Linked DNA regions of Homo sapiens: regions 1, 2 and 3 are each linked to region 4. The links are contacts of gene promoters, found by promoter capture Hi-C in blood cells and fetal thymus (Javierre and others, 2016). All regions are on one chromosome and are shown on one strand. The core of a region is centred on a gene start or on the middle of the fragment in contact, and the rest is flanking DNA. Distances in the headings are between cores, read along the strand shown. Region 1 has its middle 100 kb from the start of RIPOR2. Region 2 has its middle 130 kb from the start of CARMIL1. Region 3 has its middle 170 kb from the start of RIPOR2. Region 4 holds the start of ALDH5A1 (aldehyde dehydrogenase 5 family member A1).

Evidence for each region. Contacts are between HindIII fragments. The CHiCAGO score rates a contact against its expected background, and 5 or more counts as called.
Region 1: a contact is called between a fragment that was not itself captured here and the fragment with the promoter of ALDH5A1 in region 4, in 1 of 17 cell types (fetal thymus). The highest score is 8.4, in fetal thymus.
Region 2: a fragment that was not itself captured here is called in contact with the fragment with the promoter of ALDH5A1 in region 4 in 2 of 17 cell types (non-activated CD4 T cells and total B cells); the score reaches 6.8 in non-activated CD4 T cells.
Region 3: a contact is called between a fragment that was not itself captured here and the fragment with the promoter of ALDH5A1 in region 4, in 1 of 17 cell types (neutrophils). The highest score is 6.9, in neutrophils.

Annotation. Positions count from the first base shown.
Region 1 is chr6:25,036,925-25,042,757 of GRCh38, reverse strand. It overlaps a transcript of RIPOR2 not described here. Among named protein-coding and RNA genes, the nearest start is that of RIPOR2, 100 kb to the right of the region's middle. The HindIII fragment of the contact is 950 bases long and covers 3,613-4,562 here.
Region 2 is chr6:25,143,202-25,149,470 of GRCh38, reverse strand. No RefSeq gene overlaps it. Among named protein-coding and RNA genes, the nearest start is that of CARMIL1, 130 kb to the left of the region's middle. The HindIII fragment of the contact is 1,781 bases long and covers 2,530-4,310 here.
Region 3 is chr6:25,103,484-25,109,090 of GRCh38, reverse strand. It overlaps the pseudogene CMAHP. Among named protein-coding and RNA genes, the nearest start is that of RIPOR2, 170 kb to the right of the region's middle. The HindIII fragment of the contact is 3,413 bases long and covers 210-3,622 here.
Region 4 is chr6:24,490,011-24,496,351 of GRCh38, reverse strand. It overlaps ALDH5A1 (aldehyde dehydrogenase 5 family member A1), which reads right to left and starts at 1,383. Exons shown (of 10, transcript NM_001080.3): 1 at 1,002-1,383. The coding sequence starts at 1,355. It also overlaps a transcript of GPLD1 not described here. RefSeq lists a silencer at 988-1,377. The HindIII fragment of the contact is 3,166 bases long and covers 1-2,374 here.

The DNA.
Region 1 (5,833 bases), core at 2,838-5,337, 540 kb before region 4:
GGGCCACCTGCAGGTGAGAGCAATAGGTGCGTGGAGGACAGCCCCATGTCTATGGCTTCAGGAAAGCCTCATGTAAAATGAGGCTTTGAAGTATGAACTAGTAGGTGAGGGGCAAGTGTGATCGTAGGTGGAGAAAAAGAATGGGTGAGAAAATTCAAATAGACATATTTGAAGACAGTGCACTGGGCAGATTAACTGGTGAAAAAGAAAGTATGAAATCACTTATGTTGGTTATCACCGAATCATTCTTTCAGTCAACAAATATTTATTGCTCACCTACCAAGTGCCAGGCACTATATTAGATACCGGAGACCCAGCAGTAAATAAATCATACGCCCTAAAAGGTAAGGGGTGTTGCTCTGATTCAGCTCTAGCAGCAAAGCTCTGCTCTTCATTTCTGCCTACAGAGAGGGATTCCCATTTCAGCCCATTCCTGCGTGCAGTCAGACACACCTGCCCTCCCCCTGCCATTGCACGGCTCCTCTGACGCGAGGGCAGACACAGGAGCCCGGTGATCGTCTCTGCTTGAATAAATTACCGCCCCATCATCTTCATGCATAAAACATGGCACAGGAGGCTAGGGCAGCCCAGCACAGCAGCTGCCTTCGGGCCAGTCGGAAGTTAAGGGAAGGAAAGGCAAGGCAAGTTACAAGATAAAAGAAGTCAACGGAAGCCTCAAATACTCTTTTTTTTTTTTTTAAGAAAAGAACAAAAAGGGGGGGGTTAAGTTTTCTTTTTCATTTTTATACGTCTGGACTTAACTTCCAGGATAGCTGCAAGACCCTTTTGTTCCTTTGCCATGAGCAGGTTTTAGGCCGCTCTGTTGGGACCATGGTGTTACCTTCGCGATTACACTGGATCAGAAACAGGCCATGGAGGGACAGGATCCGGAGGCGCCAGCTCAACCGTGAGTGTCCCGTCTGGTGTTACCTACTCTCTGCCTTTGTTTTCCACACTTTCCCGCAACACACTCATTTCTTGCCCTCTGCAAATCTTCTCCAATCTTTCCCCCTTCCTCCTCTCTTCCACTTTCCTGTGCTCCGTTTTCCAATGGACTTTGGTATTTTTTTACCGACTCTCTCTCTTCCTATTTCCTTCCCAGCCCTATCCTAATTAGAGGTAACTAGATACATTTTGTTTCAAGTGGTGAGCAAGACAGGGCCACAGGGCCTCTTTTCTTTATTTCTCCAACCAGATGGAAAATACAAATAAATATTTACATCGGTCAAGGAGTCATGTGAATTGGAATTTTTGTTTATTACAGTGGGGAAAAAAATGGAACATCTGAATCAAACAGGTTATCAGCAGTGTCGCTAGATGAGGTGAAATTCAAGGATCAGTGAGTCATATTTCCTTTAAAGGGCCCAATTGTATGCTTCTTAAATTATCAAACTCACAACTGAGTAGACAGGAACTCTAACCAAAAGGGAGTTTTTAGTGCTGGAGTAATCTGAGAATGAAAAAGCATTTCCTATGTATGCCAAGACCATTTCTCATGAACAAGTAACAAATTTGTGTGTGTCTGTTTTTAGAGATGTTTATTTATCTCAGATGTCAGCAAATTCAAATGGGTGGAGGGCTGGGCTGCTAAGAAGAATGAGTGAAAGGGGTCTGTTTTCACAGGGGTAAGGAATAGTTCACTTTCTTCCTGTCTCTGTTGTGAGAAAAATGATAGTGAAAGCATGATGATAAATGACAACTGACATTTGGCCTCAATATGAGGTAGCAATAGGCAGTGGTAGAGGGTGCAGCAAATGGGGAAATATGTGTCCCATCATAGTGGGGCACCCACCATTCAATGCCATCAGATTGTTTCCATGAGGAATGGGGTAGAGGTTGGTGGATTTTCCAATTTTTCAAAAAAAGCAGGCAGATGCGGTAGCTCATGCCTGTAATCCCAGCACTTTGGGAGGCCAAGGCGGGAGGATCATGACGTCAAGAGATCGAGACCACCCTGGCCAACATGGTGAAACCCTGTCTCTACTAAAAATACAAAAATTAGCCGGGCGTGGTGGTGGACGCCTGTAATCCCAGCTACTCAGGAGGCTGAGGCATGAGAATCACTTGAACCCAGGAGGTGGAGGTTGCGGTGAGCTGAGATCGTGCCATTGCACTCTAGCCTGGGCAACAACAGCGAAACTCTGTCTCGAAAAAAAAAAAAAAAAGCAAGAAACACTAATTTCTATGTGAAAGCTCTCAAGTTTAAATGTTGGCAGTTTATTCTTTGAATTTTAAATATGTAATACCAATGTTCTGAGGCAACGTGTGACAACTGTGGACCACCAGTAGCCAAGCCCTGGTTTATGTGCTAGGTGTTGTTCTCATTAGAAGTCCATCACACAGGCCGGGCGCGGTGGCTCACGCCTGTAATTCCAACACTTTGGGAGGCCGAGTTGGGCAGATCACCTGAGGTGAGGAGTTGAAGAGCAGCCTGGCCAACATGGTAAAACCCCATCTCTACTAAAAATACAAAAATTAGCCAGGCGTGGTGGTGGGCACCTGTAATCCCAACTACTCAAGAGGCTGAGACTGGAGAATCGCTTGAACCCAAGAGGCGGAGATTGCAGTGAGCGGAGATTGTGCCATTGTACTCCAGCCTGGGCGATGAGCGAAACTCCATCTAAAAAAAAAAAAAAAGTAGAAGTCTATCACACAGTGTTCTTTATGCCTAGATGCCTAGTTATATGTTGGCAACTCTTCCTTATGTGTTAAAAGCCCCTGGTATAGACAATTAAATTAAGATGAATGAGTGGCTTAGGAACATGTATCCAAAATAGTCACAGTCTACTAGTTTCGGAGGCAAGCTGAGCTGGTTGGATTCCAAATGACAATTCAAAGACAAGCAAACAATTTGCATCAAGCAAAATACTTCTTTTTCTTTGATATAATTGAAGAAGCCATCAGTTTTCTCTGGGCCTTTACCTTCTTGATCATGTTTCTTTTACTTGCGCGTACCTTAAATTTAAATTCCAGTTTTTATGAAACTTCATTCTATATCTGTAGGAAATTAGTTGTGATCCTAAGTTTTAATCCAATACCTCCGTTATGGAATCCGTCACTGAGAAAAGCTGGATTATGGATCTGCATGGTTTCACTAGTATGGATGGGAAGTCGGCCTATACTCTTAAAATAAGAGTTATCAGAAAAGCCTGCTTTACTACAGAAATTTCACTTAAATTTTGAGACTAACATCTGAATACTGTGCTGATTTCTGCATGGTTTTAATATGAAATGATATATTAATAGATGTTGAATGTAAGCTCAACATTAAGCAGGCTGGTCCTGACCTCTTTGGCATAATGCCTAAGGAGGGAATTCTGATATTCTTCCAGGATGGTCAAGAGCCCTGCTGCATGAGAGTCAGTGTGAGTTAGAAACAGGAACAGGATCAAGTGACATTTTTGGAGGGTTGCATTTTCCAACTCACAAAAGACCTGTGCATGTTTGCAGGCAGCGAATCAGAGAAAGTGGAAAGGGAGAAAGAGTGAAGACACCTGCGAGGGAAGGACGCTTATCACTGCAAATGTCAGCCTGCAAGGGTGGCCCTCAACAATATTTTGCAGCTGCTAAAATCTGCTTTGATAACGTTTCCTGTCTTCTTTCTCTGAAGCTTTTCTCATAGGTCAGCGTTTCCTCCAACTTGGGGACTCAAGTTATATAATCCTTTGGGGTTATTTTGTCATTAAGAAAAATAAATTAGTAAACCCCTTTTCTTTAAATACACAGAGGGACCTTGAATGGCGATAGGAGGGACATGTGCCACCACTGTCCATTTCCATGCCCATGCAGACATTGGTAATCAACCACAGCTCTCTCCTTTTTCCCCACGGGGGCCAGGCCCTGGCTTGGAATCCTTTCTAATATAGTGCCTTAAGCTGCCATGTCTAATCAATTAGAATTGCCTCACTGGTTGAAATTTATGTTTGTTTTCTAGTGCTTTGTAACAAATTACCACAAGTTTATTGCCTTAAAACAACATACATTTTTTATCTCACAGCTTCCATGGGCATGAATTAGCTGGATTCTCTGCTCAGGGTCTCCCAAGGCTGCAATGAAGGTGTTCTCTGGGGCTGCAATCTCATCTAAGGCTCAGGGTCTCCTTCCAAGCTCAATGGTTGTGGGCAGAATTTAGTTCCTTGCAGTTGTAGGCCTGAGGCCTTCAGCAACTAAAGGCCACCCATTGTTCTCTGCCACATGACCCTCTCCATAACATGGTAGTTTGCTTCCTCAAGGCCAACAAGGGTCTTTTGCTGCTTATAGACTCTTCTTTAAAGGGCTCACCTGATTAGGTCAGGCCCACCCAGGATAATCTCTCTTTTGATTAGTTAAAAATTGACTGATCAAGGACTTTAATTACATTTGAAAAATCCCTCATTTTTGCCATATAACATAATCTAATCACAGAAGTAAAATCTCATCATATTTATACCCAAGGTTCAAGAACTATACAGAACCTGTATGCCAAGGGGCAAGAATCGTGGGGCCATCTTCAAATTCTGCTTACTACAAAACCTAATTGTCATCTTTGCAATAGAACTTCGATTTTGAGCTACTGGAAAGCTTTAGGTTTTTTGTTTGCTCATTTGTTTGTTTTTGTTTTACTTTTTATTATGAGAATTTTCAAACATTCAGTAAAGTTGAGAAAATAGTATAATGAATCTTATATATCTATCACCTAAATTTAACAATTATTAACATTTTGCCATATTTGCTTCATCTAATTTCCTGTTGAAACATTTAAAAATAAATCAGACATTATGACATTTTAGTAAGAGCGTCTCTAAAAAATAAGTACATTTTTCTACATAACTGCGTAATAAAATTAACAATGATCCCCACATATTATTTAATACCCGGACCATATTCAAATCTCCCCAGGTGAGAACAAATCCTTAATAAGCTCTGCATGCCTGTAACCCTTAGTAAAATACCTGGTACCTCATCTACTCAATAACCGTTTGGGTTCCATCAAAATTAAACTCATAGTAAAGCAATGGATCCCAAAGTTCATCTTCCCTAAGCCTTCCTCACTTCTTCCTTTCACCCCCAGAATCTGTAATGAAATATTTATTTTCTTTTCTAGTCCATAGCAGTGTAGTAAAAAAATAATAATAATAATCAAACCAAGGTATGAGAACGGTAATATGTTACCCTTCTTAGGGATATTTGAATTTTAAAAGAGGCCAAAGGTCACTACAAAGACACACATGTGTGATACTGAGCAGACATTCGGGAGAAGGACCTATCTGGTGTCCTGTAAACCCTGTCAAGCTGCTTACCTGTGACCTGCCCAGGTAAAGAGGAGTATAGACACAGCAACAGCCCGTGGGTGCCTGGGCCTTCTACATGATGACAGCAGGGTCAGGGCAGGGCACGGGAATGAGGGGTGGGCACAGATAACTGAATGCCCCGAGAGCCTTTCTTTCCTTTAGTCTGCCACAGTTGGGGTGGGCGATTAAAGGAAAGAAACCCTGAAAAGTATATAAGCTTTGACAACCAGGAGATTTGGCTTCAAATCCTGCTTCTACAACTTCTTAGCTGTTGGCCTGTGGGCAATTTATTCCACCTCCCTGAATGCCCACTTCCTCAACCTTAAAATGCTTATTACAGTAACACCCACCTCCCATTGTTATTGGAGGGGATTAAAAGACATAAAATATGTCAAGTGCCTAGCACAGTTCCTGGCAATGTAGCTATTGGGAGCTGAGGGCCTAAAAATGGTAATAGTGGCATTTGAGGCAGTATGAAGGGCTTACCATTGCCACCTCCACATTTTTTCCCAAAATAATGGGAGACATGTCATACTGGAGAAGGCATCCCCATCTTCCTCAGC
Region 2 (6,269 bases), core at 2,171-4,670, 650 kb before region 4:
GAGAAGTATGAGTTCTCCAACTTTGTTCAAGATTATTTTAATCAGAGTCCTTTGTGTGTTCTTACGAATTTTCGGATCAGCTTGTGAGTTTCTGGGATTTAGAAAGGAATTGCATTAACTCTGTAGAAAAATTTGGGGAGTACTGCCATCTAACCTTCTGATCTATGAACATGGAGTATCTTCCTCTTTATTTAGATGTTTAATTTTAAAAATATTCTGTAGTTTGCAGTGTACAAGTTTTGTACTTCTTTTGTTATACTTATTCCAAAGTGTTTATTGTTCTTAATTACATTCTGAATGAATTTTTTTCTTAATCTCTTTTTTGAGTTGTTCATTGCTAACATGTAGAAATGCAATTGATTTTTGTATATTCATCTTGTATCTGACATTTTGCCTAACTTGTCTATTAGCTCTGGAAATTTTTTAGTAAATGTTTTAGGATTTTATATATACAAGATCATGTTGTCTGCAAATACCTTTACTCTTCCTTTCCAACTTGATGGCTTTATTTTGCCTAATTTTCCTGTCTAGAACCTTCAGTAAAATGTTGAATGGAAGTGGTGAGAGCAGATATCCTTATCTTCTTCTTGATTTTAGGGAAAAAGTATCCAGTCTTTTGCTATTGAGTATAATGTTAGTTTTGGGTTTTTCATGGGTTCCCTTAATTAGATTGAGAAAATTACTTTCTACTATTAGTTTGTAAAGTGTGTCGTTGTGAGGGGGTGGGAGTTAGTCATGAAAGGGTATTTTTTTTCAAAATTTTTTTCTGCATTATAATTTCTTTTGAGACTATTATGTGGTTTTTACCTTTTATTCTCTTAATGTGGTATATTACATAATTGATTTTCATGTATTAAATCAATCCTGCATTCCTAGGATAAATCCCAATTGATCTGGACAAGTTTATGGACTATCAGTACTAATTTTTCTCTAAATGTTTGATAGAATTCACCAGTGAAGCCTCTGGGTTCTATGTTTTTCTTTGAAAATACTTTAAATTACTGATTCGATCTCTTTTCCTGTCATAGGTTTGTTCATGTTTTCTATTCCTTTATGAGTCCATTTTGGCAATTTGTGTTGCTCTAGGAATTTGCCCACATTACCTAAATTATCTAATTTGTTGGCATATATTTATTCATAGTATTTACTTATAGTCCTTTTAATATTTGTAGGATTAATGGTAATATCTCCTCTTTCATTCCGGATTTTTTTGTAATCTGTGCTTTATCTCTTTATCTTGTTCAATCTACCTGAAGGTTTGCCAATTTTGCTGATCTTTTCAAAGAACCATTTTTTGATTTTACTGATTTTCTATTTTTTTTGTTTTTTCTACTTCTTTTATTTTTACCCTGTTATTATTTTCTTATTCTACTTGTTTTGGGTTTTGTTTGCTTTTCCTTTTCTAGATCTGAAGTTGAAGTCTTAAGATTATTAAGATCGTTCTTCTTTTCTATTATAGCCATTTAAAGCTACAAATTTGCCCCATGTCTTGCTTTAATTGCATCCTACATATGTGCTCCTTTCTGATTAAAACTCTCTCCTTAAAGATATATAGTACCCTGACTCTTGTAATATTTTTCTCATTTTCTGAAACAATACACTTTAGTTTTCTTGTTAGGGAACTTTATTTAAATGGAGTCACGTTGCCTCTGTGTGTGTGTGTTTTGTTCTTTTTATCCAATATTATTTCTGGGCATTGGTGCACGTTGTTACAAGTAGTCTTAATTGGTTTATTTGTCTTTTTGTGTTCCACAGAATGCTACTTTACTGTTATAGCGTATAATTTACATAACATATAAATACATAATTTATCATTTCATTGTTGATGAACATTTGCATTGTTTCCAATGTAATATACTCAAATGTAATATGAATAATGCTGTGATGTACATTCTTGTACATGTATCTTGAAGAACATATGCACATATTTCTCCAGTGTTGAGACTTAGCTAAGAGTAGGATTGTTAGGTGACAGTATATGTGTATTCTCTGTTTTAGTGTAGAATGCCACACTATTTTTCAATGAGATTGAACCTCACTACATTGTCATTAGTAACATATGAGAGTTTCCATACTCCTATTATCAACATTTAGTACTTGCAGTTGTTTTAATTTTAGTTGTTCTGGTAAGTATAGTGGTACTTCATTGTGGTTTTTATTTTCACTTCCCCATTGCTAGTGAGGCTGAGCTCTGTTTATACAGTTAGTCACAATTTGGATATTCTATTTTATGAAGTACCTATTCAAACCTTTTTGCCCATTTTTCTTATAGATTGTCTTTTTCTTATTGATTTATAGACATTCTTCTATATTCTGCATAGAAATCCTTTGTCATATTTATGTTGCAAATTTTCATTATGTGTCTTACCTTTTTACTCTTTTATTGTGTTTTGGGGTGTATATGTTCTTTTGGTGTAATCTAAAATTGCAATAATTTTCCTTTTGGGTAGAGCTTTTTGTGTTTTGTTGAAAAAAATCCACCGTGTCCCAAGATTATAAAAAATTTCTCCTAAATACCTTCCAAAAGCTTGATTGTTTATCTTTTAAATGTAAGTCTTTTAACTTGTCTGAAATTGATTTTTATCTATGGAATAAGGAAAGAGTCCAATCTATTTTTCCAATATGGGATCCCAGTTACCCCAGCAAGTTTAGTGGAAACATTTATCCTTTCCCTAGTGATCTACAGTGTCACTTATCAAGTGTTGGTGTATATGTGGACTTGTTTCCAGGCCTCTATCCTGTTCCCTTGATTATTTTATCTACCACTGAGCCAACACTATATGATCTTAATTATTATAGCTTACAATAAGTCTTGATATTTGCTAGGACAAATCCTCTCTCATCTCCCACCTTGTTCTTCTTGAAGAATGTTTTTTCTCTTTTTGGCCCTTGGCATATCTTAATAAATTTTAGAGTAAGTTTTTAAGCTGTAAAAAAAAAAAAAAAATTCTGGGGGTTTTATTGAGACTATAGTAAATCTACAGATAAATTTGGAGTAAATTGATTATCTTCATAATATTGAGCTTCCTATCTATGAACATAATATAACTCTTCGTTTATAGATACACTTAATATCTCTCAATAGAGTTTTATAATTTTCTCCAAAGAGATCATCTTTTGTTAAATGTATTTCTTGATATTTCATTTTTTATGCTATCTTTTAATTTTTATTTATTTATTTATTTTTTGAGATGGAGTTTCTCTCTTGTTGCCCAGGCTGGAGTGCAATGGCACGATCTCGGCTCACTGCAATCTCTGCCTCCCGGGTTCAAGCAATTCTCCTGCCTCAGCCTCCTGAGCAGCTGGGATTACAGGCATGTGCCACTACACCCGGCTAATCTTGTATTTTTTGTAGAGACGGGGTTTCACCATGTTGGCCAGGCTGGTCTCGAACTCCTGACCTCAGGTGATCCACCTCAGCCTTTTCTGCTATCTTAAATGATATATTTTTAAATTCAATTTTTGTATTTTTTATTGCTGATGTGAGAATAAATTGATTTCTTAAACTATTGATTATATATCTAACAGCTGTACTAAACTCTCAGAGTCTTATAATTTATATGTGGGTTCTTCTGAATGTTTATGTATACAGTCAGTTCTAAGTATCTTCAAAAATGATTTTTTTTCTTTCCACTCCTTATGTGTTTGACTTTTTTTTTTCTTGCCTTAATGTGCTGAGTAGCTTATTCAGGTCTCTTTACTTTTACCTAATGTCTTTTTCTGTTTCAGGGTTACATCTAAGATACCACATCACATTAGCTAAGGAGCTATCATGTCTCCTTAGGCTTCTCTTGGCTGTAATATTTACTTAGATTTTTCTTGTTTTGGATGACCTTGAGTTTCAAGGAGTACAGACCATGTATTTTATAGGTTACCTCTCTACTGGAATTTATCTGATTTTTTTTCTCATGGTTAGACTGGGATTATGGGTTTGCAGGAGGAAGACCACATCATATTAAAGTTACATTCTAACATAATTTATCACCGTTGATATTGACGGATTGTCACATTTCCTTACTGTTAAAGTTACTCTTTTTTTCATCATTTCCATACTGTACTCTTTGAAAGGAAGTCTCTATGAAAGGAAGTCTCTATGTGCAGCCCACATTTAAGAATTGATTATTTCAGATTTTCTACATAGGCAATCATGTTATCTGTGAACAAAAACAGTTTTACTTCTTTCTTCCCAATTTGTATACCACTTATTTATTTATTTGCCCTATTTTATTGTCTAGAACTTTCAATGCAATGTAGAAAAGCAGTGGTGAGAGACGACATCCTTGCCTTGTCCTTATCTTAGTAAGAAAGCTTCTACTTTCTCATTTTTTGTAGATGTTTTAATTAATTAATTAATTAATTTATTTATTTATTTAAGATACAGGGTCTTGCTCTGTCTCCCAGGCTGGAGTCCAGTGGTGTGATCATAGGTCACCCCAGCTTTGAACTGGGGGCTCAAGTGATACTTACATATTGGCCTACCAAGTAGCTAGGGCTATAGATGCATACTGCCATGCCTGGCTAATTTTTTTTTTTTTTTTTTGAGATGGAGTCTCACTCTGTCACCCAGGCTGAAGTGCAGTGCCATGAGCTCAGCTCACTGCAACCTCCGCCTCCTGGGTTCAAGCAGTTCTCCTATTTCAGCCTCCCAAGTAGCTGGGATTACAGGCGTAGGCCACCATGCCTGGCTAATTGTTGTATTTTAGTAGAGACGGGGTTTCACCATGTTGGCCAGGCTGGTCTTGAACTCCTGACCTCAGGCGATCCACCTGCCTCAGCCTCCCAAAGTGCTGGGATTACAGGCATAAGCCACCGCACCTGGCGCTTTTTTATTTTTATTTTTTAGCAATGGGGTTTTGCTATGTTGACCAGGCTGGTCTTAACCTCCTGGCCTCAAGTAATCCTTCTGTGTTGACCCCCAAAAACACTTAGATTAATGGGTATGGGCTGCTGTGCCCAGCTGTAAATGTTCTCTATCAAGCTGAAGAAGTTTCACTGTATTTCTAGTGTGCTGAGAGTTTTTATCATGAATGAGTGTTGGATTTTATCAAATGCATGTGATCATGTGACTTTTCTTCTTTAGCCTATTGATTTGATACATTATATTAGTGACTTTTGAATGTTGAACCAGCCTTACATGCCTGGAATAAATCCCATTTGGTCATAGCATATAATTCTTTTTATCCATTGCTATATCTGATAATATTTTGTTGAGTATTTTTGCATCTATGTTCATGAAAGAAATTAGCCTGTAGTTTTTTTTTCTTGTTATAACTTTGTCTGATTTTGGTATTAGGGTTATGGGCTCATAGAATGAGTCAGGAAATATTCCCTCTGTTTCTGTCTTCTGGAAGAGACTTTTGAAAATTGGTATAAATTCTTCTTTAAAATTATAGTAGAATTCACCAGTACACCCTTCTGGGCCTGATGCTTTCTGTTTTAGAAGGTTCTTAGTTACCGATTCAATTTATTTAATATATATAGTACTACTCAGATAGTCTATTTCTTTTTGTACAAGTTTTGGCAGATTGTGTCTTTGAATGGATTGGTCTGTTTCACCTAGGTTATCAAATTTGTGAGCGTAGAGTTTTTCATAGCATTCCTTTATTATCTTTTTAATGTCCATAAGTTCCATAGTGTTGTCCCTTCTTTCATTTCTGATATTGTATTTTTTGTTTTTGTAGACACAGGGTCTGTTTTTTTTTTTTCCTTTGAGAGAGGGACTCGCTCTGTCACCCAGGCTAGAGTGCAGTGGCACGATCTCAGCTCACTGCAACCTCTGCTTTCTGGGCTCAAGTGATTCTCCAGTCTCAGCCTCCCAAGCAGCTGGGACTACAAGTACAAGCCACCAATGCCTGGCTAATTGTTTTGCATTTTTTGTAGAGATGGGGTTTCATTGTATTGCCCAGGCTGGTCTTGAACTCCTGAGCTCAAAGCAATCCGCCCACCTCAGCCTCCCAAAGTGCTGGCATTACAGATGTGAGCCACCACACCTGCCTTAGACACAGGGTCTCACTTTGTTGCCCAGACTGGTCTTGAACTCCTGGGCTCAAGTGATGCTTCTGCCTTGGCCTCCCAAAGTGCTGGGATTACAGGCATAAGCCACTGTGCCCAGCCTGATATTAATATTTTTGCATCCTCCCTCTCTCTCTCTTTTAAAATATTAGTTAGCCTAGCTGTGGGCTTATCACTTTTTTGATCTTTTCGAAGAACCAGCATTTGGTTTTGTTGCATTTCTCTATTAGTTTTCTGTTTTCAATTCCATTGATTTC
Region 3 (5,607 bases), core at 667-3,166, 610 kb before region 4:
AATTTGCAAAAGGTACAGGGAAGTATGTTAATCCACTTTTTTCTGATCCTTTGGGCTCAACACCTGGAAAAAGTTGACAGAAGAAAGCAGTCTATCTATGAGCTAGAGTGGAATTAAGATAAAAGTCTTCATGAGACACCTAGTATCCACCAAGTCAAATGGGATGAATTTAGTCGCTTGAAAATTCAGAAAATATACTATTGAAAGCTTTAAGTTTTAAAATCTTACTGTTTGTTTTTCCTTTGATATAATCAATTCTTCTATAATCAAATAAGTTCAATTATACAGACTGTATACAGAAGTCCTTGTCTTGGAATTCAAACTATGGGTGTTCAAGATTTCACCTTGAATATCTATACCTCTTTGTTTCTCCACAGGTCATAAAATACTCAATATAGTAGACTGCACCAGACCCAATGGGGGAAGGCTGCCTATGAAGGTTGCTCTAATGATGAGTGATTTTGCTGGAGGAGCATCAGGCTTTCCAATGACTTTCAGTGGTGGAAAATTTACGGGTAATATTTTGTATGAAAGTGATACCAAGTATCACGCATGGCACATTGCTAAATGCTGTAAGAGTAAATACAAATGTAATTGAGACATGATCCCTCCCCACAAGAAGCATGCAATCTTATTGGGAAACCAGATTTGTAAGTTGCAGATTACCAACTAAGGTTTCTAGCTCAAAACATGATGGAGCATGAAGGAAATGTTGAGATCTGAGAGCACCTCAGGAGGAGCCAAGAAAGAGAATCATCTGGATTCACCATGTAGACCGTAGAGCAGAACAGGAAAGGCCTGAAGTGGGTCATCCAGGCTTAGGTGCTCTTGGAATATGGTTCCTAATGGGGTGTGTGCAGCCTCAATGTAGACACATCCCCTTGGCACTGTGGATGCTCATATCAGGGAGCAGTGTGCCCAGAAGAGAGTCCTCTAGTTGGGGACCTCTAGTGCACCCAGAGGAGGGTCCTCTGGTTGGGGGTCTTAGGCAGGAGCCCTTCTGCTCTGGGTCCAAGAGTGGGGTTGGGGTTGACATTGGGGAAGTGTGTATCCTCAACACTAGTATTGTAAGTGCTCAATACATGTCCACTTAATAAATTAATGTATCTGATAAGTGATCCCTGTCTAACAGTGTGGCAGAAAATGCCCTGCTTTGCAATATGAAGATAACCTTTGTCCCGTTCTTTGCTTTCTTCTCTAAGTCTATATTCATTGCCTCCCGGAGTGTGTAACCACATGAGAAATAGAGGGAAGGTTCTGTCCTTAAGAAGTTAAAAGTGTGACTGGGAAGGTAAAACATACTTATTAAGGGTTAACTAGCATCATGCCATTCTGTGTGATGGTGAGTTTGTGTGTGTGTGCACATGTGCGTGAGTACACACATATACATTTAAAAAGGTCTTGAATATACCAAAATATTATGTCTAGGTGATGGGTAGCTTGTATATTTTTTCTGTATCCTTGTCTGTGTTTGTCAAATTTTATAGAAACAATAACAGTAACAGCTCTCTGACCTTCTACCCTGTATGTTCTGCGTCCTGTCTAATTCCTCAAGTTCCTTCACTGCCTGTCACTCTGATGCTTGCTATATATCAGCCCATCCTGCTTTTTGTTTCTTAGACCCAAAGTGTCAAGTGCACACCTGCCCTGGGTCTTTGTGTTTGCTGTTTCCATTTCCTGGAGTGCAGCTGGCCCTGATTTGCATGTGACCAGCAACTTTTCATCTATGTCTCAACTCAAATGTCACCTCTTCACTGACCATCCTGTCTAATGATTCCCTCCATCTCATCCCACTCACCCCAGCCACTCTCTGTTCCATTGCCCTGTTTTATTTTCTTCACGGTGCATCATTCTTTGCAATGACTTTATTTACTTGTTCATTATTTGCTTCTCTCACTAGAATGAACACTCCATGAGAGCAGGGACCTGCTTTGCCTTGTTCACCACTTTATTCCCAGTGGCTAGAACCACGTCTGACACAGAGTAGGTGCACAATAAATATTGGTTACGTGAATGAATAAGCAAATGAACGGCACTGTGAGAGGGGCATCATGACTCCATTTACAGAGAAGATACAGACATGGAGAAGTTAGGTAGTTTGCCCAAGGCTGCCCAACCAGTAAGTGGTGGGTCAGGATTTTCAACCTAACTGACTCCAACGTCATGCTCTTAATCACTGTGTATTTGTCAGATTATGTTGAACACACCTGTTATAATCTACAAATATAATGAAGCCATTTTCATGTTAGTAAAGAGTTAATTTCAAGAATTACAATGCCCTTAAAATGTGCATGCACACCAACTACGATTATGCATCCTACCCTGTGTATTCAGCTAGGGTCCGAATGAATTGCCATATACAAGGAGAAAGCTCAGTGCCTTTGGCTGGCTTGGTAACATTTTCCTAGTAACCAATTGAAATTTCCAAGATAAAAACTCCGGGGAAATCCTCCACTAATGACATGGAGCCTTGTTCTATTTCTGCCTTAGTTACCTATCAATTTTATCTCCTGAAAGAGTTCCAATCTGCTAGAACATGTGTTTTTCTGTGATTTTTCCAGCAGAGGAGACTCTAATCTAAATCCTGTCATTTCAGAGGAATGGAAAGCCCAATTCATTAAAACAGAAAGGAAGAAGCTCCTGAACTACAAGGCTCGGCTGGTGAAGAACCTGCAACCCCGAATTTATTGTCCCTTTGCTGGGTATTTTGTGGAATCTCACCCATCAGACAAGTATGGCTAGACACTTTGTACATTTTTACATACAACTTAACGTATGGTGGAATGAGCGACTTTGCTGTGAAAGCAGTGTGACATGAGAAGGAAAGTGATTAGTAGGTGTCTGGAACTTTTTAACAAGCTGCTGGAGAACCCAGAGCATGAATAAAAGTTACACTTGGCAGCCAGGAACTCTTTCAGGAGATAAAATAACAGATAGATATTCTCCGAAAGGATCCCAGGAAAGAGGATGGCAACTGCCATTTATTATGTGAAGTGAACTGGGGACTTTTAACTAAGCCATCTAAGTTAATCTCCCAATAGCACTATGCGTAGGAAGGGGGTATTGTTCCTTTTTTGCAGATAAGGAATCTGAAACTCAGAAAGGTCAAGGGACGTGCCCAAAGTCACCCTGTTGGAAACATGAGTTGAGAATGGAACCCTGGTATGCTTAGTTCTAAAGCTCTTTTCTCTATACCATACTGCATTCCAGAATAGAATTATGTCTTTCTTCTCATGTTTTAGGTATCTAATGTGATTTTTCTTGCAGCAATATAACTTCTGCAAATACTATGAATCATCACCAATGTATGAAATTGTTGAAAGAAATAAAAGACCATGAATTTGATCTTGTCCCCTTTGCCAATGCTCAGTTAAGTCAAGAAAACCTACATGATTAATTTCAAGATTTTCTTGAAACAAAAGAATTGCTTGCCAAATATGCAGGAATCGAAGATAAAATCTGGCAGGGTAGTTTGTTTTTTAATCTGATATCACAGTGCCTATGGAAAAACTCATTTTGAATCTCATCCTAAGTCTGACTCCAGCGTCATGCTCTTAATCACTGTGTATTGTCAGATTATGTTGAACACACCTTGTATTTGAACACAATGAAAGGAAAAGCTTAATTGTGACTTAGTTACACGGGAAGAAATATTTTATTAGGTTCCTAGAGCTGTTGTAACAAAGGAACATAAACTGGGTCATGTAACAAAAATTTGTTACAACAGCCCTAGAAACCTATTACAATTTTTGTTAACAAACGTTTGTTAAGTTCTAGGGGTCAGAAGTTTGAAATAAGGTGTGGGCTGAGCCATGGTCCGTTTAAAGCCGCTGGGGAAGGATTGGTTCCCGGCCCTCTCCCAGCCTCTGGTTGCCTCAGACACTCCTTGGCTTGTAGATGACCATCTTTACTCTGTCTCTTCACATGGCATTTTCCCTGTGTGCCTATCTGTGTCCACATTTTCCTTTTTTTATAAAGACATCAGTCAGATTGTTTTAGAGCCCACCTACATGACCTCATTTTCACTTGATTACCTCCATAAGGACCCTGTCTCCAAATAAGGTCACATTCTGAGGTACTAGGACTTAGGACTTTAACATTTCATTTTTGAGGGGAAAACAACCCATCACACGTATTTATATTAAAATGGAAACTTTTCATGGCACCAATTAATAACAGTTTTATACATTTTTAAAAAACCAATATGCAGATTTTATTTTTAATTGACAGCATTAAAATTGACTGCAAAGTTGAGTAAAATTTGAAGAATGTTTCATTAGTATTGATAATTTATAGTTGAGTTTTGATTTATGTAATACCCCTTTGAATTCAATGGTAATATTAATGAGTTGACACAAAAGTTAGTGAATTTACTAAACTTGGACAGGCATAGTTTTGAAACTGTTATGCTTTTGCTTCAAAGCCAAATCAGTTCTTCTAAAAAAAAATATGAACCAGTTGTGTCAATGTGGATTTGAGTGCTACATGAAAGTACATTTTTAGTACTTGCTTCTTTTTATTGGGAAACTTTTTGGGTATGTGTGGAACAACTTGAGCATGAGAAGCTACTTTTTGAACTATTCATTTTATAAGATCTATAGATCAAGTCTTTCTGATGAAAATGTAGGATCTAAATTGAGATGTACTCTGTTTAAAATATACATTGGATTCCAAAGACTTGATAATGCAGAAAAGAATGCACAATATCTCAATAATTTTTAAAAATTGATTTCATATTAACATATTTGGATTGAGTTAAGTAAAATCTATTAATTTTACCTGTTACTGTGTACTTTTTTAATGTTGCTACTAGAAAATTTAAAATTACACATGCTTGAATTGTATTTCTGTTGAACAGAGTTTAATAATTTTTGGCATCATAGACCTTTTAATAGAGTAAAATCTTAGCTGTATAGAACTTCTGGGAACTTGGGCATTCTAAATAGTGAAATCATGCTAGGTAGCAAAATTTTCTGGATAGGTATAGTTTATCTCTCTAGATGTGAAAATTTTATGATTTAGGTATAATTGTCTTCTCAGAAAGAGTATTAGAACATAATTGATCTTTTCTTGATATCATGGATTCATCATTTCAAAGTTTTAGAATGTAATGTAACAGCTTGATGTTCCTACAGTTCACTGGAGGATGTTATAACAGGATGTGTTCTAGTCCATTGAGCTGTTTGCCCCTGCACTAAACGGCCCCAGGCAGTAAAGCATTATATCTGCTCGTTACAGTTTTGCTAAGTTAGTGATCATTCTTCACTGCTGTAACAAATCTTTACCAGCAGTCTCAATCCTTCTCTTTGATTTGCTGCTTCTAGCCACCTAAGTAATTAAGTCAAAAATTAACTTACTTTCACTTTTTGTACATATGCTTATGAGAGAGGCCCTGAGCAACTCTCCTGGTGAAGGACTGCTAGAAGCCTCACTCATAGATGACACTCCAAGGAAAAAGAATCATTTTCTCAAATCAAAGCAATTTCGGTTCGAATAATACGAAGAGAATCCTTGTTGCAGTCTTTTCTCTCGCTAACCTCTCACCACTTTGCCCCACAAGCATATGCAGTTTCCAGAACATGCACAGCAGTACAGGGAAATCGAAGC
Region 4 (6,341 bases), core at 134-2,633:
AGCATCTCTCACATACTTATTTGCTTAGATATTATGTTTGTTGTTTAGAGTTCTGATCTCTCTTCTGCTCCCCTTCCACCCCATGTGAGCTCCATAAGGGCAGAATCCTTCTTTCGTTTAACTGAGGTATCCCAAGCACCTCCAACAGTGCAGGGCATACAGCAGGTGCTCAGTAAACAGCTGATGGATGAATGAGTGCTAAGACTCTCTTGTACTCGTAGGGATCGCTGGATGCATTCCTTCAGAGGGAGAGCTTTGAAGGACACGGTAAAAAATTTCACTGCGTTGACTCCAGGTTTAATAATATAATATTAGAAGGAAGAAACTACTTTCTTAGTTTTCTTCTTACTCTATTCTTCCCATTTAATGGCCCTCCACCCCTTACTCCCAATTCTCCAGTGTTCTCTATGCAATGGCCAATAGCAGCATTTATCCATTTAGGGTGAAAACCTGGAGAACGCTCCTGGATTTCTCTCTTCCCCTGCACAAAACCCAAATCTTTCTACAGTTCTCTCCGTTTCCGATCCCATGATTCTGGCCAGGGGCCCTCACTACCAGCCTTCTCAAGGGCCGCTGAAGCAGCCTCCTGCGTGGGCTCCCTGCAGCTGCGGAGATATTTCAGCTACTCTGAAGGGCCACACGTGCTCTCACTTCCCTGACACCCCTCCCCTTTCTCCCCGCCCCTCCACGGTTAGGCTTGTTGACCATAACAAGCAGCTCGCTTGTATTAGGCGCTCACGTTCTGCCTCCCCTACTGGGCAGTGCATAACTTGATGAGGCTTGAGGGCAGGGGTCGTGTCCCTAGTGCCCGGCTCAAAGTGGAAGCTCCAAACTTATTTGTCGGTCGTCTCCCTTGTTGCTCTGACTTTCCACTTTGTATACCCTGGGGAACTGAGCACAGGAGGGAGGCGACGCGGCTGGTGTCACTTTGGGGTAAAGCCCCCTCTGCTCCCCGCCGTGTCCCCGGCCAGCTCTGGCCCCCTGCATCCGGGCTCTCTCACCTTGGCGGAGACCTCCCTCCAGCGGCAGAAAGCCTCGTAGGCAGCGCGCACGGCGGCGCGGGCCTCTCGCACCCCGCAGTCGGCTACCATGCCCAGAGCGGCGCCGCTGGCCGGGTCTTGCACGGGGAAGGTGGCGGCGGCCGGGAGCCAGCGGCCGCCCACGAAGCTGTCGGTGCGCAGCAGCGCCGCAGAGAGGCCCGCCAGGCGCCCAGCGTAGCAGCGGAGCTGGGCCGGGCCGGGCGCAGGCCCGGAGGCAGGGACCAGGCCGCCGGCGCGGGGGCGGAGGCGGCAGCCTGGAAACGTCGACCCGAGGCGCCGGGCCCCACAGCTCCGCAGCCAAATGCAGGTCGCCATGGCCCGGGCAACGACGGCGACAGGAAACAGGCAAGCGGGCGCGCGCGCACGGGAACGCAGGGGTCGCGGGGAAGCAAGAGGAGCGAGGAGGCGCCGGGGACGCGCGGGGAAAGCGTGGGAGCTGGCGGAAGGTTGCAGAGCCACAGAGCAGCGCCCTCTCTCCGCGTCTTTCTCGCTGCACCGCCGCGCCGCCCTCTGCACCTTGCCCTAAGCGCCGCGCGGCTTCTCTCCTGGCGCGACCTTCTCCCGGGGGAGGGTTGGGTTCGGGGATGGAGAAGGCTCGCCAGTAGATGCACCTGCGGACTGCTGTCACCTTTTCACTTTTCGGGTGCTCATTTGTCACTAACTGCTCCTGAGCCCCCAATCGCTGCTAGAGACCCACTCTCTCCCCTTAGCATCCCCCAAATTCGGCATCCCCGGAATTTGTGCGCGGTCCATAGATGCGCTGGTGCCTGCCCTAAATGCCAAGGCCGTGATCACGCTTCTTCAGTTGTAGCTCCTGAGCACGTAGTATTGATTGGGAGCGATCGTTCTCTGAGGGGTCGAAGTGTGACCCCGCGTTCTGCTGCCTGGCTGCTTTTTTGGGTGTGTGTCTAGGCATTCTCCTAGGGTTGCTCCCGATAAATAACAGCGCTTTGGAAATAAACAGACTAGGATCCAAACTCAAGTCTGTTGCCGACAAGCTGTGTGACCGACAGGTTAACCTTAGTCCAGTCACTTATAAAATAGAACCATATCTACCCCATTTTGTTGTGAGATAACGTAAAATGCTCATTACAGTTGCCACATTAAATTCAATATAGCGTTCAAAGTCATACTAGCTACCCTAGTCAAGCCACTAGTAAGATTAAAGTTGGGTCACCAACTAGTAAATGGAAGCATTTGTCAAAATTGAATCAACCAAGGTATAAGGATTGAGCATACTATCCAACCAAGGTATTTGAGCACCTTTAAACAGCATTCTTCATCCGTTAAAAAATTAGACTTGGGCTTAAGACTCTGAAAGCAGCAGGGAAGCTTAAAACCTAATGAGGATAAAAATAAAAATAGCAGGCGTATGCTGGGAATTTGTGGGTGCAAATGAAGCCCAGCCCTATGCATTGATTTTAGGTTACATATCTCCCTTTCTCAACTCCTACAGCGTTGAGAGTATCTTGCTAGCTTTCACCTTTTTCTAGGACGTTGAATTTTTTTCTAGGACATTTGCAAAATGCCGAGGCAGTAACTTTAAATTTTGACTTTGTCTTTTGCTGAGTCAGATCCATTGAGTTTTGAGCCAGTCACATATGGCAGAAGTGATAACAGTAGAGTTTAATCAATTTCACACTATTTTGCTCTGTATTTTATTGCAGGAACTGGGGAGAACCAGGGAGTCCTAATAGGGATGTGGGCCAGTAGGTATCACAGGTGGGGCTGGGGAGCTGGCGTGTTTACATCTCCTGCCTGCGGAGGGAGTTTTTGTTTTTGTTTTGTTTTGTTTTTGGTGGTGGTTTTTGTTTTTTGTTTGTTTTGTTCTTGTGAGACCGACAGACTCATTCTGTCACCCAGGGTGGAGTGCAGTGGTGCGATTTCAGCTCCCTGCAACTTCCGCCTCCCGGGTTCAAGCGATTCTCCTGCCTCAGCCTCCCGAGTAGATGGGGCTACAGGTGTGTGCCACCAAGCCCAGCTAATTTTTGTATTTTTAGTAGAGACAGGTTTTCACCGTGTTGGCCAGGCTGGTCTTGAATGCCTGACCTCAAGTTATCCGCCCTCCTTGGCCTCCCAAAGTGCTGGGATTACAGGGCTCATTTCTACTGGCCTGGGGAAATCATTCAATTGAGGCCTCAATCAACTGAGGCCCAGAAAAGCCAAGTTAATTGTGGCTGCCTCTCTTGTTCAAAAATTACCCTAGCCCACTTACCTTTTTAAGGTTCTATTTCAAACGGTACCCACTCCCTTTCCCAGATGACTTATCCATTACGCACAGTAGGTACGATGCCAAGGGCCCATAAAACTTTTAGGAGCACTCACAAATGTTTAATTTATTCTAAAATCTGAAGAAAAGAAGTTTTAGGTGGCATATTAATATGTTAATCTTACACCAATGCAGATGTAAAATGTGATTTCTATTTATTGTTTACTTATTTTTGTGACAGGAAGTACTTCACAAAGGCAAAAGCGCCTGGAGCTTAGAAAGTTCACAATGTGGCCCTCCCCTTTTCCCTCAGTTTTGTGCCCCTCTTCAAGCCCCCATTCAGAGTGTAAACAATTTCCTCCTGGCTCCTGTCTTACTTCCAGCCTGTCCTGATGCCCCCTAGCGCCTGGCTGGGTGTCTGTCCTTACCAGGGCCTACAAGGACAAGACCATCAGGTGAGAGGGACCTCTTCCCTCCTTTCTCCTTTGGCTGCCCTTGTCCTGGGAACCTCCACTCCCCAGTTCCCACCCTTATTCATCCTCTCCCCCATTTTCTTTTTCTTTTTTTTCTTTCACTTTTTTTTTTTTTTTTTTTTTTGAGTCAGGGTCTTACTCTGTCGCCCAGGCTGGAGTGCAATGGCACGATCTCAGCTCATTGCAACGTCTGCCTCCTGGGTTCAAGTGATTCTCCTGCCTCAGCCTCCAGAGTAGCTGGGAGTACAGGTGCGCGCCACCATGCCTGGCTAATTTTTGTATTGTTTAGTAGAGATGGGGTTTCACCATGTTGGCCAGGCTGGTCTTGAACTCCTGACCTCAGGTGATCTGCCCACCTCGGCCTCCCAAAGTGCTGGGATTACAGGCATGAGACACTGTGCCCAGCCTCTTCTCCCCCATTTTCTAGACTGGCCCACATAAAGCTTGAGACCCTCTGGCTTTCAAACCTGTATTCTCCCTACTCACTCCTTAATGTAACTGTATGTTTACTTTTCACCTTGGGTCTCTATTTCCAGAAGAGTTCTAAATGGTAGAATCATGCTGTCTTGTTTATAACAAAGCCACCTATATTAGGAAAGGGGGGTGTGGGGCAGAAAGAAAAATATTTCCATATGCTTATTATTTGTCAGATAGTAATATTGTGAGCTACGTTTTAACTTTCTTTAAAGTCATATCTTTGATGTTTTTATTGTTACCAAAGTAATACAAACTTCATAAAACTGCAAGCAATATTGTCATATAAAGACCATATTCATAACTATCACACTAAGCAAATAATTTCCTCTTATTTTATTACATTTATACGTTTATGTCATTCTGAATCTCAAATACAAAAAAATGCATAATGAGAAATTGAGACATTTGGGATTAGTATTGTTTGGTAACTGAACCCATTCCTTTTTTTTTTTTGAGGTGGGGTCTTGCCCAGGCTGGAGTGCAGTGGTGTGATCTCAGCTCACTGCAACCTTCACTTCCCAGGTACAGGCGATGTTCCCGCCTCAGCCTCCTGAGTAGCTTGGACCATAAGTGCATGCCACCATGCCCGGCTAATTTTTGTTTTTGTTTTTTTCTTGGTAGAGACGGGATTTTGCCATGTTGCACAGGCTGGTTTTGAACTCCTGGCCTCAAGCCATCTGCCCGCCTTGGCCTCCTAAAGTGCTGGGATTATAGGCGTGAGCCACCACACCTGTTCTGAACCCATTTCTTTGGTGCTTTTTGGATGGGTTTGTTGTATTATATATGGTTAGATATCTTTTCTAGCAGTATTTTTTTCCCCTGTAACCATTGATTGACTGCTCTTGGATGTTCTGAGAGACAATATCCAAAGTCCCAATTAATAATTGTGACTCCCTCACGCACAGTCTGTAGAAGGCCCAGAGTGACAGGGAGGCAAACTCAAAGGCCTCTGGTGGCCAGAAGGGGTGTGGAAACCTGCACACATTGCATGGATGGTGGGGACTGGAGGAGCAGGACATGCTCTATCAGGGGGCAGCTGGCTCTTTGGCTGCAGCTGGTTGTCGTGTCACATGGGAGCGTCAGTTCATGATGCCAGTTCTTTTGTTTTTAAGAGAGCCAGAAATCTAGATTTCTACGTGAATTTTCTCATTTAGAAAAAGTTCATAAACTTGATTTAAGTTTATAAAACATCCTGTTAGCCAAACAAAACACGTAGGCATATGGCCTCTGGACTAATCAGGAGTAGCTGGGCCTACTGCCCCTCAGGTCTGGGGGTAGCTGCGGGATTTCTTTCCTTGGGGCTGTGCACATGGCTGTGTTAAGCTTACAGGGGAAACTGTTGGGGCGACAACTGTTGTCAAATCATTCCACTTTCTTTTTTTCTTTTCTTTTTTTTTTTTTGAGACAGGGTCTTGCTCTGTCACCCAGGCTAGAGTGCAGTGGTGCAATCTCGGCTCACCGCAATCTCCACCTCCTGGGTTCAAGAGATCCTCCCACCTCAGCCTCCCCAGTAGCTGGGACTACAGTCACGTGCCACCACACCTGGCTAATTTTTGTATTTTTAGTAGAGACGGGGTCTTCACTATGTTGATCACGCTGGTCTCAAACTCCTGACCTCAGGTGATCCACCAGCCTCAGCCTCCCAGAGTGCTGGGATTACAGGTGTGGGCCGCCACGCCCAGCCAAATCATCCCACTTTCTATTCATCCTTTCATTTGGCAAACCTGAAGTGAATACTATTTCCTCCCACTCTTTTAGGAGCCCATCTCTTGCTTTTAATGTAAAATATGCATAATTTGTGTTTTAAGATTACCATCAGTTTCATGAAGAGCTTAATTTTTCCCATGGATGAAGTGTAAGTGGGTACCTGATAATATATCGTGAGCTTAACATTTTCCAAACCCTGTTTCTTGGCCCTAAATCTGCCCCCTTCCTTCCACCTCCCAAGTGGAATTGACATCTTTGCTTCAGCTGCAGGAATCTGACCTTGCAACAGGCTCTGGATAAGCCCTATTAGAACAGCCAGAGGTAGAGAGACCAGGAGTGGCTGCTCTTGTGTAATCCCATACAAGTGTCAGTATCTGTTGCCAAATACTGAAAAGGAAGCCAGTTCCAGCTGATTACCATAAAACTTTCCCAGCA